Linked DNA regions of Homo sapiens: regions 2, 3 and 4 are each linked to region 1. The links are contacts of gene promoters, found by promoter capture Hi-C in blood cells and fetal thymus (Javierre and others, 2016). All regions are on one chromosome and are shown on one strand. Each heading gives the region's core, a stretch centred on a gene start or on the middle of the fragment in contact. The rest is flanking DNA. Distances are from core to core; before and after follow the strand shown. Region 1 holds the start of LIAT1 (ligand of ATE1). Region 2 holds the start of DOC2B (double C2 domain beta). Region 3 overlaps VPS53 (VPS53 subunit of GARP complex). Region 4 overlaps VPS53 (VPS53 subunit of GARP complex).

Evidence for each region. Contacts are between HindIII fragments. The CHiCAGO score rates a contact against its expected background, and 5 or more counts as called.
Region 2: a contact is called between the fragment with the promoter of DOC2B here and the fragment with the promoter of LIAT1 in region 1, in 2 of 17 cell types (M2 macrophages and endothelial precursors). The highest score is 5.6, in M2 macrophages.
Region 3: a fragment that was not itself captured here is called in contact with the fragment with the promoter of LIAT1 in region 1 in 12 of 17 cell types (megakaryocytes, non-activated CD4 T cells, naive CD8 T cells and 9 more); the score reaches 12.9 in megakaryocytes.
Region 4: a fragment that was not itself captured here is called in contact with the fragment with the promoter of LIAT1 in region 1 in 14 of 17 cell types (M1 macrophages, M0 macrophages, M2 macrophages and 11 more); the score reaches 13.6 in M1 macrophages.

The regions. Positions count from the first base shown.
Region 1 is chr17:409,022-411,721 of GRCh38, reverse strand. It overlaps LIAT1 (ligand of ATE1), which reads right to left and starts at 1,397. Exons shown (of 2, transcript NM_001013672.5): 1 at 1,076-1,397. The coding sequence starts at 1,379. All of the region lies in intron 2 of LOC105371430 (a long non-coding RNA gene), which reads left to right. RefSeq lists a silencer at 1,256-1,345. The HindIII fragment of the contact is 6,027 bases long and covers 1-2,700 here.
Region 2 is chr17:180,316-183,015 of GRCh38, reverse strand. It overlaps DOC2B (double C2 domain beta), which reads left to right and starts at 1,366. Exons shown (of 9, transcript NM_003585.5): 1 at 1,366-1,909. The coding sequence starts at 1,537. RefSeq lists enhancers at 481-982, 2,444-2,700. The HindIII fragment of the contact is 7,942 bases long and covers 1-2,700 here.
Region 3 is chr17:538,363-541,062 of GRCh38, reverse strand. The region is part of intron 17 of VPS53 (VPS53 subunit of GARP complex); the gene reads left to right. It overlaps VPS53-AS1 (VPS53 antisense RNA 1), which reads right to left. Exons shown (of 3, transcript XR_007065570.1): 2 at 460-674. Among named protein-coding and RNA genes, the nearest start is that of VPS53-AS1, 17 kb to the right of the region's middle. The HindIII fragment of the contact is 2,374 bases long and covers 64-2,437 here.
Region 4 is chr17:662,834-665,533 of GRCh38, reverse strand. The region is part of intron 4 of VPS53 (VPS53 subunit of GARP complex); the gene reads left to right. Among named protein-coding and RNA genes, the nearest start is that of VPS53, 51 kb to the left of the region's middle. The HindIII fragment of the contact is 6,306 bases long and covers 1-2,700 here.

The DNA.
Region 1 (2,700 bases), core at 148-2,647:
GTAGGGACTGGGGTTTATGGCAGGTAGGGTATGTGTGTTTGTGAAGGTGTCCCTGAGAGAGACTGCAATTCCTGCCTGCATATGACTACACACGCGAATGGATAACGTATTAACAGTCTGTGTGTGTAGACTAGGAATGTGTGTGCATGAGGGGGATCTGTGCTTTAGTTTTCTTGTTTGTTTTTTTGAGAGACAGGGTCTTGCTTGTTGCCCAGGCTGGAGTGCAATGGTGCGATCATAGCTCACTGCAGCCTGGAAGTCCTGGGTTCAAGTGATCCTCCCACCTCGGCCTCCCAAAGTGCTCGGATTACAGGTGTGAGCCACTGCGTCCCGCCCTTTAGTTTCACTGTTGGTGTTACATTGATAGAAGGTGGGGGGAGTGGTTGAGGGTGTCCCCCGCCCTTTAGTTTCACTGTGGGTGTTACACTGATATGAAGCGGGGAGTGGTTGAGGGTGTCAGGGATTATAGGAGGATGTCACAGTGACTGGTGTCATGGGGTTTGTGCAGTCCAAGGCTGCCCCTTGGTGGGTGCGAGGGGGAGCCCATGCAGCGAGGACCTTTAATACACACGTCTGTGGGTGTGGGTGTCTACCGCGCATCCACAGGCAGGCAGCCTTAACGCAAGAGGGTGGGAGGAGGGGAGGCAGGAGTCTGCCCTTCTCTGTGCATGAGAGTGAGGGCCTTTCATGTGGCATCAATGTGTTTGGGGTGGGGAAAGTGTCTTGTGAGGAGGGCCTCTGTGGGGAAGGCGCAGACGTTTAAGACTGCCAGTTTTGGCTGAGGGATTAGGAAGTTGAGAGGGTGTCTTTGTGTGGGGCTGGAAGGCTCTTAGGAATGGTGGATATCTGTAGGGGTCTCTGTGTGGGGCTAAGGGACCGCAGAGTTGGTGGATGGTCTCCACGGGTGGGGCTGGGGCATCAACGTGCTGCTGACGGGCATGTGTGGGGAGCAGGAGGACCTCGGTCCGGGACCACTGAGCTTCTGTTTCCGGTCTGAAGGGTAAATGGGGGGTGGGTCCCCAAAGAGTCTCCAGGGAACCGGAGCTGACGCAGCCGGGCTAGCTGCTCCTCTTACCGTCCCCCTTGCCAGACCCCTTGGTCTTCTTCTTCCTTTTTTTCTTCTTCACCTTCCGTTTGGCCAGCTCGGAGGCGCCGCCTGTGATGGGGGGCAGTCTAGACCCCCGCGGGCCCGCGGCGCCGCCCTCCCGCTCCTCCTCCTCGCCGTCGTTGTCCTTGTACCCCATTGTCCCCGCCCCACCGCGGCGGTCCAGCCGCCCGCTGGGCTGCAACCCAACCCGCCCCGGGGGCGCCCGAGGCCCGATGCCGACTAATCGGCGACTCTCAGCGCGGACCGCCAGGCCAGGGCCACGCGTCTCCATGGCGACCACCCCTGCTGCGCCTGCGCAGTCAGGACGCTTCCGCCCGGTGCCCCACGGACCGCGGTGTGCGCATGCGTGCTTCCGTCTTTTGGCGACCTTGGCACACAGCGGTGTGCGCATGTGTGCTTCTGTCGGGGATCTCGAGAACAGAGCGTTGTGCGCATGCGTACATCTGTCGGAGTGCTAGGTACGCAGCGGTGCGCGCATGCGTGCTTCCATCTGTTGGCGATACCGGCACAGCGATGTGCGCATGCGTGCTTCTGTCTGCGGAGACCTCCGCGCATAGAAGTGTGCGCATGCGTGCGTCTGTCGGAAACCTCCGCACACAGAGGTGTGCGCATGCGTGCTTCTGTCGGGGACCGCGGCGCACGGTGGTTCGCCCATGCTTGCTTTTGTCTGTTGGAATCTGGACAGTTGACCGCAGGAAGGGGAGGGTGGGCAGAGAGATTTTAAATCCCTGGGCTGACACTCATCTCGTCCAGTCCCGTGCCTCGATCCTCCTGCCTTGGCCTCCCATCCCCACGCCTGGCTAAGAGTTTTGATTTTTGGTTTCAGGCTGGTCTCGAACTCCTGGGCTCCATCGATCTTCCCGCCTCGGCCTCCTAGATCGCTGGGATCACAGGCATGAGCCTCCGTGCTCGGCCTCCTGTACCTTTTTAAATGCTGTGTATTCTCCCCTCAATTTTTATTGCCTGAGTTTCAGCCTCGTACATCTACCCTGGACTCTCAAAGCCAATGTGTCCAAAACAAACTTACTTCTTCATGGTTTTCCACTTTAGTGAACAAAACCGCTGGACTGGCTGGAAACCTGGTGGGCTTCCGTGTCCCCTACCCTCTCCCTTGTCCCTTACCCAGGCTGGGGCCGACTGCCGTGTCTGGCACTGGGACTTCTGGGTCCTCTCCTGAATGGTCTCTGCTTTCAAACCTTCCCCACGAACTCTTTTTCCGCACAGCTGCTAGAACAAACTTTTAAAAACAACCAAACCGTTCACTCTCTTGCTAAAAGTCTCCAGTGATGAAAAACAAAACATAAAAAGCCAAAAAGTCCTCCATTGCTTCCTCATCACAATTTACATCAAGATCTAAACTCTTGTGGGGCTCTGTGCAGGGCTGACACCCGTAGTCCCAACACTTTGGGAGGTCAAGGTGGGTGGATCGCTTGAGCCCATTCTGGGCAACGTAGTGAGACCCCATCTCTACAAAAAATTAACCAGCTGCGCTGAGGGGCACTTGTGGAGGAACTTGAGCCTGCAGTGAGCCGAGATCGCACCACTGCTGTCCAGCCTGGGTAACAAAGCAAGACTTTCTCTCTCTTTTTTTT
Region 2 (2,700 bases), core at 117-2,616, 230 kb after region 1:
TGCTGGATGGGGCCTTGCCACAAGGCTGTGCAGTTGGAAATAGCCTCACTTCATAGATGAGGAAACCGAGGCTCAAAGAGGTCAAATAGCCTGCCAGAACTGTGCAGCTGGAAGCCACAGGCCAAGGCTTTGCCTCTCTTTCCTCTGCTCCCCATCACTCTGCAGGGGTTATGGTGGGGGAACAAGAGAGGCTTGGAGCCCCTCATTCAGATGCACCAAAGGCACCCACTAAGAAGCTAAGTGTCTTACACATCAGTGGAAACCAGAGGGTAAACAGGATTCCATCCATGCCCAGGGCTTTCCGGGAACACACCTGTCCAAGCAGCAGCAGTTCCCAACAGAGCTCTGGTCCCGGAAAGCCGGACAGCCAGGGCTGGGCCCTCTGGGATTTGTTTAGTGATCTGACCGTGTGGGAGGCCTAGAGTAGGAGTGGGGGTGGGGGGAGCGTGCCGCCCAGCCTTATTGCATCACTCACCGCCCAGGCCCTGCCCTCACTCCCTCCTGACCAGGCCCTGTGCAGGTTCTCAGCCACCCTGCCCCGGGGGGTCCTTCAGACTGTACTCACTGACCAAGTGAGGGACTGACCCGAGGTTAGAGTGCTGTGTTGTATGTGACCTGAGAATATGTGTGCACAGACTGAGCCCCGGTGTCCTTGTGCAGTTGAGCGTGTACATGTCCTGCCCGTGTGTAGGCAACCTGTCCCTACATGCTAGGAGTGTGACTCCACGTCCTGCTAGAGGGGGAGGAGAGAAGGAGTTGTGCCCAGGGTCCCCTGATCACTTCTATGGGCTCATGTTTGTGCATCTTGTTAGGGGTGCTTGGGGGTAGGGAAGCCTGTGCCCTGGGTGCCCTTGATCACCTGTGTGTGTGCTCCATCAGGTGTGCGCGCCTGTGCATTGGGGGTGTACTGTGTCACAGCTTCCTAAAACAACCATGTGCGCATGCAGACGTTTGCGTGTGTGACCTACGGTGTGAGCGAGCGGATGCTTCCACCACGTGTCTCTGCACACGCATGTGTGCACTTGCACACCTGCGTGTGTCCCGAGAGAGCGAGCGGAGCCCAGCGTGGGCTGGCACGCGCGGGAACGTGTGGGTGCGCGTCCTGCGGGTCCCTGCCGGGTTGACTCCCAGCTTGTGCCGCGGGCGTGCATGAGCGGAAGGCGCCCGGCGGCCCTGCCTGGCCGCGAGTGTGCGCGCGCGGGGTCCCGGGCCGGCGTGCACGCCGGTGTGAGTGCGAGTGCGAGTGAGTGTGGCGCCGCGCGGCTCCCTCCGCTCCGCGCCGCCCGCGCAGCCCGCACACTCACCCTGCTTGGTTGCTGCCGGGTGACGCGGGCTGGGCCCGCCCCCTGCCTGCCGGCCTCTGGCACTCGCTCGCGCCGTCCGCAGCGGAGCGGGCAGCGGCCAAGTCAGGGCCGTCCGGGGGCGCGGCCGGCGATGCCCGCAGCCCCCGCCGCGCCCCGCCGGGCCTGCTGAGCCGCCCCCGGGCCGGGGTCGCGCCGGGCCGGGCCGCGCCCGGGGCGGGGCGGCGCTGCCTGCATGACCCTCCGGCGGCGCGGGGAGAAGGCGACCATCAGCATCCAGGAGCATATGGCCATCGACGTGTGCCCCGGCCCCATCCGTCCCATCAAGCAGATCTCCGACTACTTCCCCCGCTTCCCGCGGGGCCTGCCCCCGGACGCCGGGCCCCGAGCCGCTGCACCCCCGGACGCCCCCGCGCGCCCGGCTGTGGCCGGTGCCGGCCGCCGCAGCCCCTCCGACGGCGCCCGCGAGGACGACGAGGATGTGGACCAGCTCTTCGGAGCCTACGGCTCCAGCCCGGGCCCCAGCCCGGGTCCCAGCCCCGCGCGGCCGCCAGCCAAGCCGCCGGAGGACGAGCCGGACGCCGACGGCTACGAGTCGGACGACTGCAGTAAGTTTCCCACGCGCCGACTTCGCGCCCCCTCCCCTGGCTCGGGCTCGGCCCCCCCACGGCCTCGCGGCTTCCCTCCGCCGGTCCCCCTCGCGCGCTCGCGCTCTGCCTCGGTTCACAACCCCGCCGCGGGCTTGCGGGCCCCTGGCGCACTCGGTGCGCTCTCCGCGCCCTGCCCACCGGCCTCGAGCCCTCCCCCGACCCAGGCCGGACAGGAGGGAAGTTCGGGGGCACCCCCTGGGGGTGTCCCATTTCCGGGGCCGGGTTCCTCGGAGCCGGCGCCGCGCCCCCTCCCTGCCAGCCCGCCCTCCCGGAGCTCCGGCGCGGGCGGCTGCTTTTGTTCCCGGGAAGGGCGGAGCTGCGTCCCGGGGAGACACCAGTTGCTGCCGGCCGCGCGGTCGCTCCCCGCTCGCCAGCCGCTCCGGGAGGGCCTCGCGGCCGAGGGTCGGGGCTGGGGCGAGCTGGGGAGGGGCCCGAGGCTGGGAGCGGCCCGGCCTCCCGCGTGGTCCCGGCGGCCCGCAGAGCGCAGCTGCTTTGCTGGCGCGCGAGCAGAGGACCAGGAGGACCGCGGGGCCGCTTGTCCTTTGGAAAAACCTTGGCGTTTCCTCCTCCGGTGTCCATGGACCCCGCCGCAGCCCTCGCCAGGGCCGCGCACCTTCGCCCACCTGTTACGCCCGCGGCCCCCGGGCAGAGAGGGCCCCCCAGCCCGCTCCCCCTCCTCCCGGACTGAGCCCTGAGCCCCCGGGAGCAGGCAAGCGCCGGAGTCCCGGGACCGAGGCCCGGCCGGTGGG
Region 3 (2,700 bases), core at 1-2,500, 130 kb before region 1:
TCTAATCCAGTGAAGAAGTAGGAATTTAAGTATTCACATTTTCAAGAAACCTCTTTCCAAGCTTCCTATAGCAATAGGAAAAAACAAGATCCACTGAAGCTAGTTGTGGAGCGCTGTTCTCTGGTCAAAGTTCCTGCTACAGTAGACTCTCTCTAGAAAGAGTGCTGACCCCCCAGCCCCACTGTGGAGCGTCAGTCAGAGCACATACTTCCTGCCCAGGCCGCAGAAGCTGGGCTCTGGGGACACTCTGGGCCCTGCAGTCTCTTCTTGTGGTGGTTAAACTAGGTCCCGGAGGCACTCATCATTCTTACTGTCTTCAAACTGTGTCTCATTTAGATAGTAGTACCAGTTGAACGCCATCTGTATTCAACTCTACCCAAGCCCCCAAAACAAAAAGCACAACAAGAAACAATTTTAAGTGTAGAGGGGTAACTTCTAAATGTCAAATGAAAAGTTTACCTGGAAAAGTTGAGGTCTCATTTCTACTGATGGCTTTTCATGATGTTTGTTCTTCCAATGCAAGGTACTGTTTGTTTCCTTTTTTGAAAGAGTTCTTTGGGCCAGGCGTGGTAGCTCACACCTGTAATCCCAGCACTTTGGGAGGCTGAGGCAGGAGGATTGCTTGAACCCAGGAGTTCAAGACCAGTCTGGGCAACACGGTGAGACCCCTGTCTCTACAAAAAGTAAAAAAGAAAAAAATATATTTTTTTAATTAGCTGAGCATGGTAGTGTACACCTGTGGTCCCAGCTACTTGGGAGGCAGAGCTGGGAGGATTGCTGGAGCCCAGGAAGTCAAGGCTGCAGTGAACTATGATTGTACCACTGCACTCCAGCCTGGGCAGCAGAGACTCTGTCTCAAAAAAAAATGAAAAATAAAGAGTCCTTTGCTTGATCACTATGTTTCATTAGCGTCTCCTTGAGAAACAGGCCTTACCTTTAACGAAGGCCTAGTTAAGTGCTTTTATTCTTTTTTTGGGCAGGGTGGCGGGGGCGGGTCGGGGGGGAAGTTGTCTAGCAAGCACCTTGTTGTGGGGTTTGGGCTTTAGATAGACCTGGTTGGGCTTTAGATAGACCGGGTTTGGGCTTTAGATAGACTTGGTTTGGGCTTTAGATAGACCTGGTTTGGGCTTTAGATAGACGTGGTTGTCCCAGCTGTGAAATTTTGTGCAAGATACCAAATCTCTTTGAGCTTTTTGAATTTCCTCATCTATAAGGTTGTTGTGAGAACTTAGTGAGATCATGTATGAATAGTAAATGAGACGACGTATGTTTAGGGCCATGCAAAGGGACCTGCGAAGTTCGGTCTTAATGTAGCTATCCTGGGCAGTTCAGGTTGTGACCCAAACCTTCAGTCACCCATGGGGGATGATGGCAAGCATCAGCCATCTGAGGCTGGAGTGCAGTGGTACAATCACAGCTCCCTGCAGCCCCAACCTTCTGGGCTCCAGTGACCCTCCTGCCTCAGCCTCCCTGGTAGCTGAGACTATAGGCGTGTGCCACATTTTTAAAAAATACTAAAGGTAAGGTCACCTTTTATTGTTTTCTAGTACTTTAAATCACTTTCTTAGTTGACTAAGCTGACTTAAGTTTAAAATCATGAATCCACTTGGCCTTTGCTAATACTTCTTTTAGCTTGACCAATGGAGTCATGACTGACCAGAGTATTAAAGCAAATCAGCTCTTTTCACATATATTCCAAATGTGGGCACATACTGACTTGGCCAGTGATCATCAAGAGGAGTTCGGTGACGAGCATGCGGAATAACCAGTGGGAAGTTGAAGAAATCCCAGGCCCCTGCTTGGTCTTGCTTCAGAGCTGCTTTGTAACTGGTGACAGAGCACGTCGCCACCTTCTTTCATGGAGGGCTGTCATGTTTAGATTATTGTTGATAAACCGTTTTGAGATTTTGAAATATACAAAGCTGCCAGCTTGGAAAGTAACAGTCATTGCTATGGACATGATTGGCTTTGGGGGCATCAAGCCCTCCCAGTTCGCTGTGTCTACCCAGAACATTCTGCTCCGAGTCCTGCTGCAGAGCCCAGGAAATGCTGACAGCACCTGTCAATTTTGGCCTCACCCTATGAGCTCATTTAAAATCACCCAGGATGCTCATTGTTTGGATGGGTCAAATCTTCAAAATCAAATGGAAAAAGAAGCCTCTTGCGTAAGATAAAAGATAATGAGGAAAACATTTCACATAACCAAAGCATTAGAATGTTAAGTCACTTCATATTAGACCTTTCTACTGTTTCTTCATTGTTTGTTTCTGTTTTTTCCCAGTAATAAATTAGAGTTCTTTTTCCTGTGTGGAGCCTGGTTATGAAACCTTGCATAAGACTCTTCATGTTTCTGGGCCTTGGCTTTCTTATCTGTGAAATGAAGATGGAGGTCCCTTCCTGCTTTTCTGTGGTTCTGTGTGTACACATCCCTAAAGCTTTTAGAATACAAATATCCGCTGATTTGAAAAAACATTAGGAGTCATTTGAGCTTCCCACAGCTGGAGAATCATCCACGTACGATGTGATTCTTTTAAACAAGCTCTCTCAGTATTGATTTTTTCCTTTCCCCAAGAGCTCTGTAAAAATAGTGTTTTCTTGCCAGAGACATCAGGGCCTCAGAACTACTGACTTCCTTCTATGAACATATTATATGGTTTGTGTTTGGCTTAGGATCTCTTTAACAGACCATCCAGCTCCATT
Region 4 (2,700 bases), core at 156-2,655, 250 kb before region 1:
CTCCAAAGCCATGTTTTCAGGTATTTACTATAGCAGTAGCCCACTTCTTGATACCAGTTTTCTTAGTCTGTTTTATGTTACTGTAACAGAATAGTACAGACTGAATCATTTATAAAGAAAAGAGATTTCTTATAATTCTGGAGGCTGGGAAGTCCAAGGTCAAGGGGCCCACATCAGGCAAGGGCTTCTTACCGCATCTTCCCGCGGCGAGGGCTTTCTCACTGCGTCGTCCCGCGGCGAGCGCCTTCTCACCATGTCGTCCTGCGGCGAGGGCCTTCTCACTGCGTCGTCCCATGGCAGAGTTGGAAGGCAAGAAAGTGTGTGCATGCACGAGAAAGTGGCTGAACAGATCCTTTTATCAAGAACCCACTCCCGAGATAATGCCATTCATTTGTTCGTGAGGGCAAACCCCTCATGACCTGGTCACCTCGTAAAGGCCCCACCTGCCAACACCATTGCATTGGGGATTATGTTTCCAACACATGAACTTTGGGGATGCATTCCAGCCATAGCACAGGCACCCGTAACGTATTGCAGATGGGACTCTTCACTTCCAGCCCCGCCACCACCACACACACCTGCCTGTCAAGCCCGTCCTCCTCCTGCATTCCCTGGTTCAGACAGTGAACCCTGGCCTTGGCTTTTCAACCAAAACCCGGGCGTCATCCTTGGTTCTCCCTCTCCCTCATCACCCACACACAGTCCATCAGTGAGTCCTACACATTGTACCTTCCTGGAAACCCTGAATCGCTCGGCGTCTTCCCGTCAGCACCGGCTGCCTCTTCTAGGCCTCCACCGTCTCGTGGACACTGCAGCAACTTCTCACAGAGCTTTCACTCCCGCTTTCCCTCCTGCCCCTGCACAGCCCCTTTGCCACACAGCAGCCAGGACAGTCTTATACAAGTAAGCCATACATCTGTCCCTTGTTTAGACCCTTCAGTGGCTTCTCATTGGCACTTAGAGCAGAATCCTTATGCTTTGAGGCCTCCGTGCTCTGGCTCGTGCCCACCTCTCCAGATTATTTCCAGACACTTCCCGCTGCAATATTGCACTACCACCTACTGTCTGTCTTTTCGGACCTCCAAAACACCGAGGTCTTTTCTCTGTCAGGATCTTCACATTTGCTTTTCTCTCTGCTGAAAATCCTCTTACTCCAGGCTGGGCGCGGCGGCTCACGTCTGTAATCCCAGCACTTTGGGAGGCCGAGGCGGGCAGATCACGAGGTCAGGAGATCGAGACCATCCTGGCCAACACGGTGAAACCCCGTCTCTACTAAAAATACAAAAAATTAGCCAGGTGTGGTGGCAGGTGCCTGTAGTCCCAGCTACTCGGGAGGCTGAGGCAGGAGAATTGCTTGAACCTGGGAGGCAGAGGTTGCAGTGAGCTGAGATCACGCCACTTAACTCTAGCCTGGGCAACAGAGTGAGACTCCATCTCAAGAAAAAAAAAATCATCTTACTCCAAATCTACAAATTCTCACACCTCCTCATCCTGCAGGTCCCGATTTGTGTGCCCTTTCTCAGGAGACCTTCTGTGACCACCATCTCCCTTATTCTCATCACTGCATAAGTCCTTCACCACACCTGTCAATTCACCACACTTAGGAATTATCTTGTTTCTTTATTTTGTTGTTTTTCCAGGATCTCCTCCCCCTTACTTCTCAAAGTAAGTTCATTCCTTGAGGACAGAGAGAGAGACCATACTGTCTTGTTTACCATTGGATTCCCAATGCCTAGAATCATGCCTGGTATATGGGAGGCATTCAGTAAATACTCATTGAGTGATTGAAGGAGTGAATTAAGGAGATGCTGACTCGTGCCTAGAACTATAACTGCCTCAGGAATTCATAGTCTTTAGTCACGGACAGTCCAGTGCATGTGGTCTATACACATCCGTGGCCTGCTGACACGCTCACAGACACTTTAGCTGTAGGTAGTCTTTACTCACGGACGGTCCAGTGCCTGTGGTCTATACACGTCTGTGGGCTGCTGGCACTCACAGGTACTTTAGCTGTAGGTAGTCTTTACTCACGGATGGTCCAGTGCATGTGGTCGATACACGTCTGTGGGCTGCTGGCACTCACAGGTACTTTAGCTGTGGGTAGTCTTTACTCACGGACGGTCCAGTGCATTTGGTCTGTACACGTCTGTGGCCTGCTGGCACTCACAGGAACTTTCTGGTCTCCACATGTCACAACTGCCCTCATGTTGCTTCCCCTCCTAGCAGAAGCTGCAGCTGTGTTGTAATACTTTCATTGTGTAGCATCTGTCCTTGTAGGTTTTTATTTCAGTGGAAATGCTGGGCTCACCATTAGCTTTTTGCTTGTTTTTTTGAGACAAGATCTCGCTCAGTCACCAGGCTGGAGTGCAGTGGCATGATCACAGTTCACTGCAGCCTTGACCTCCCAGGCTCAAGTAATCTTCCCACCTCAGCCTCCCAAGTAGCTGAGACTACTGGTGTGCGCCACCATGCCTGGCTAACTTTTTTTTTTGCAGAGACCGAGTCTTGCCATGTTCCCCAGGCTAGTCTTGAACTCCTGGGCTCAAGCAATCCTCCTGCCTCAGCCTCTGAAGTGCTGGGATTACAGGTGTGAGCCACCATTAGCTTTCTGCCTGCCTGCCTGCCTGCCTGCCTGCCTGCCTTCCTTCCTTCCTTCCTTCGTTCCTTCCTTCCTTCCTTCCTTCCTTCCTTCCTTCCTTT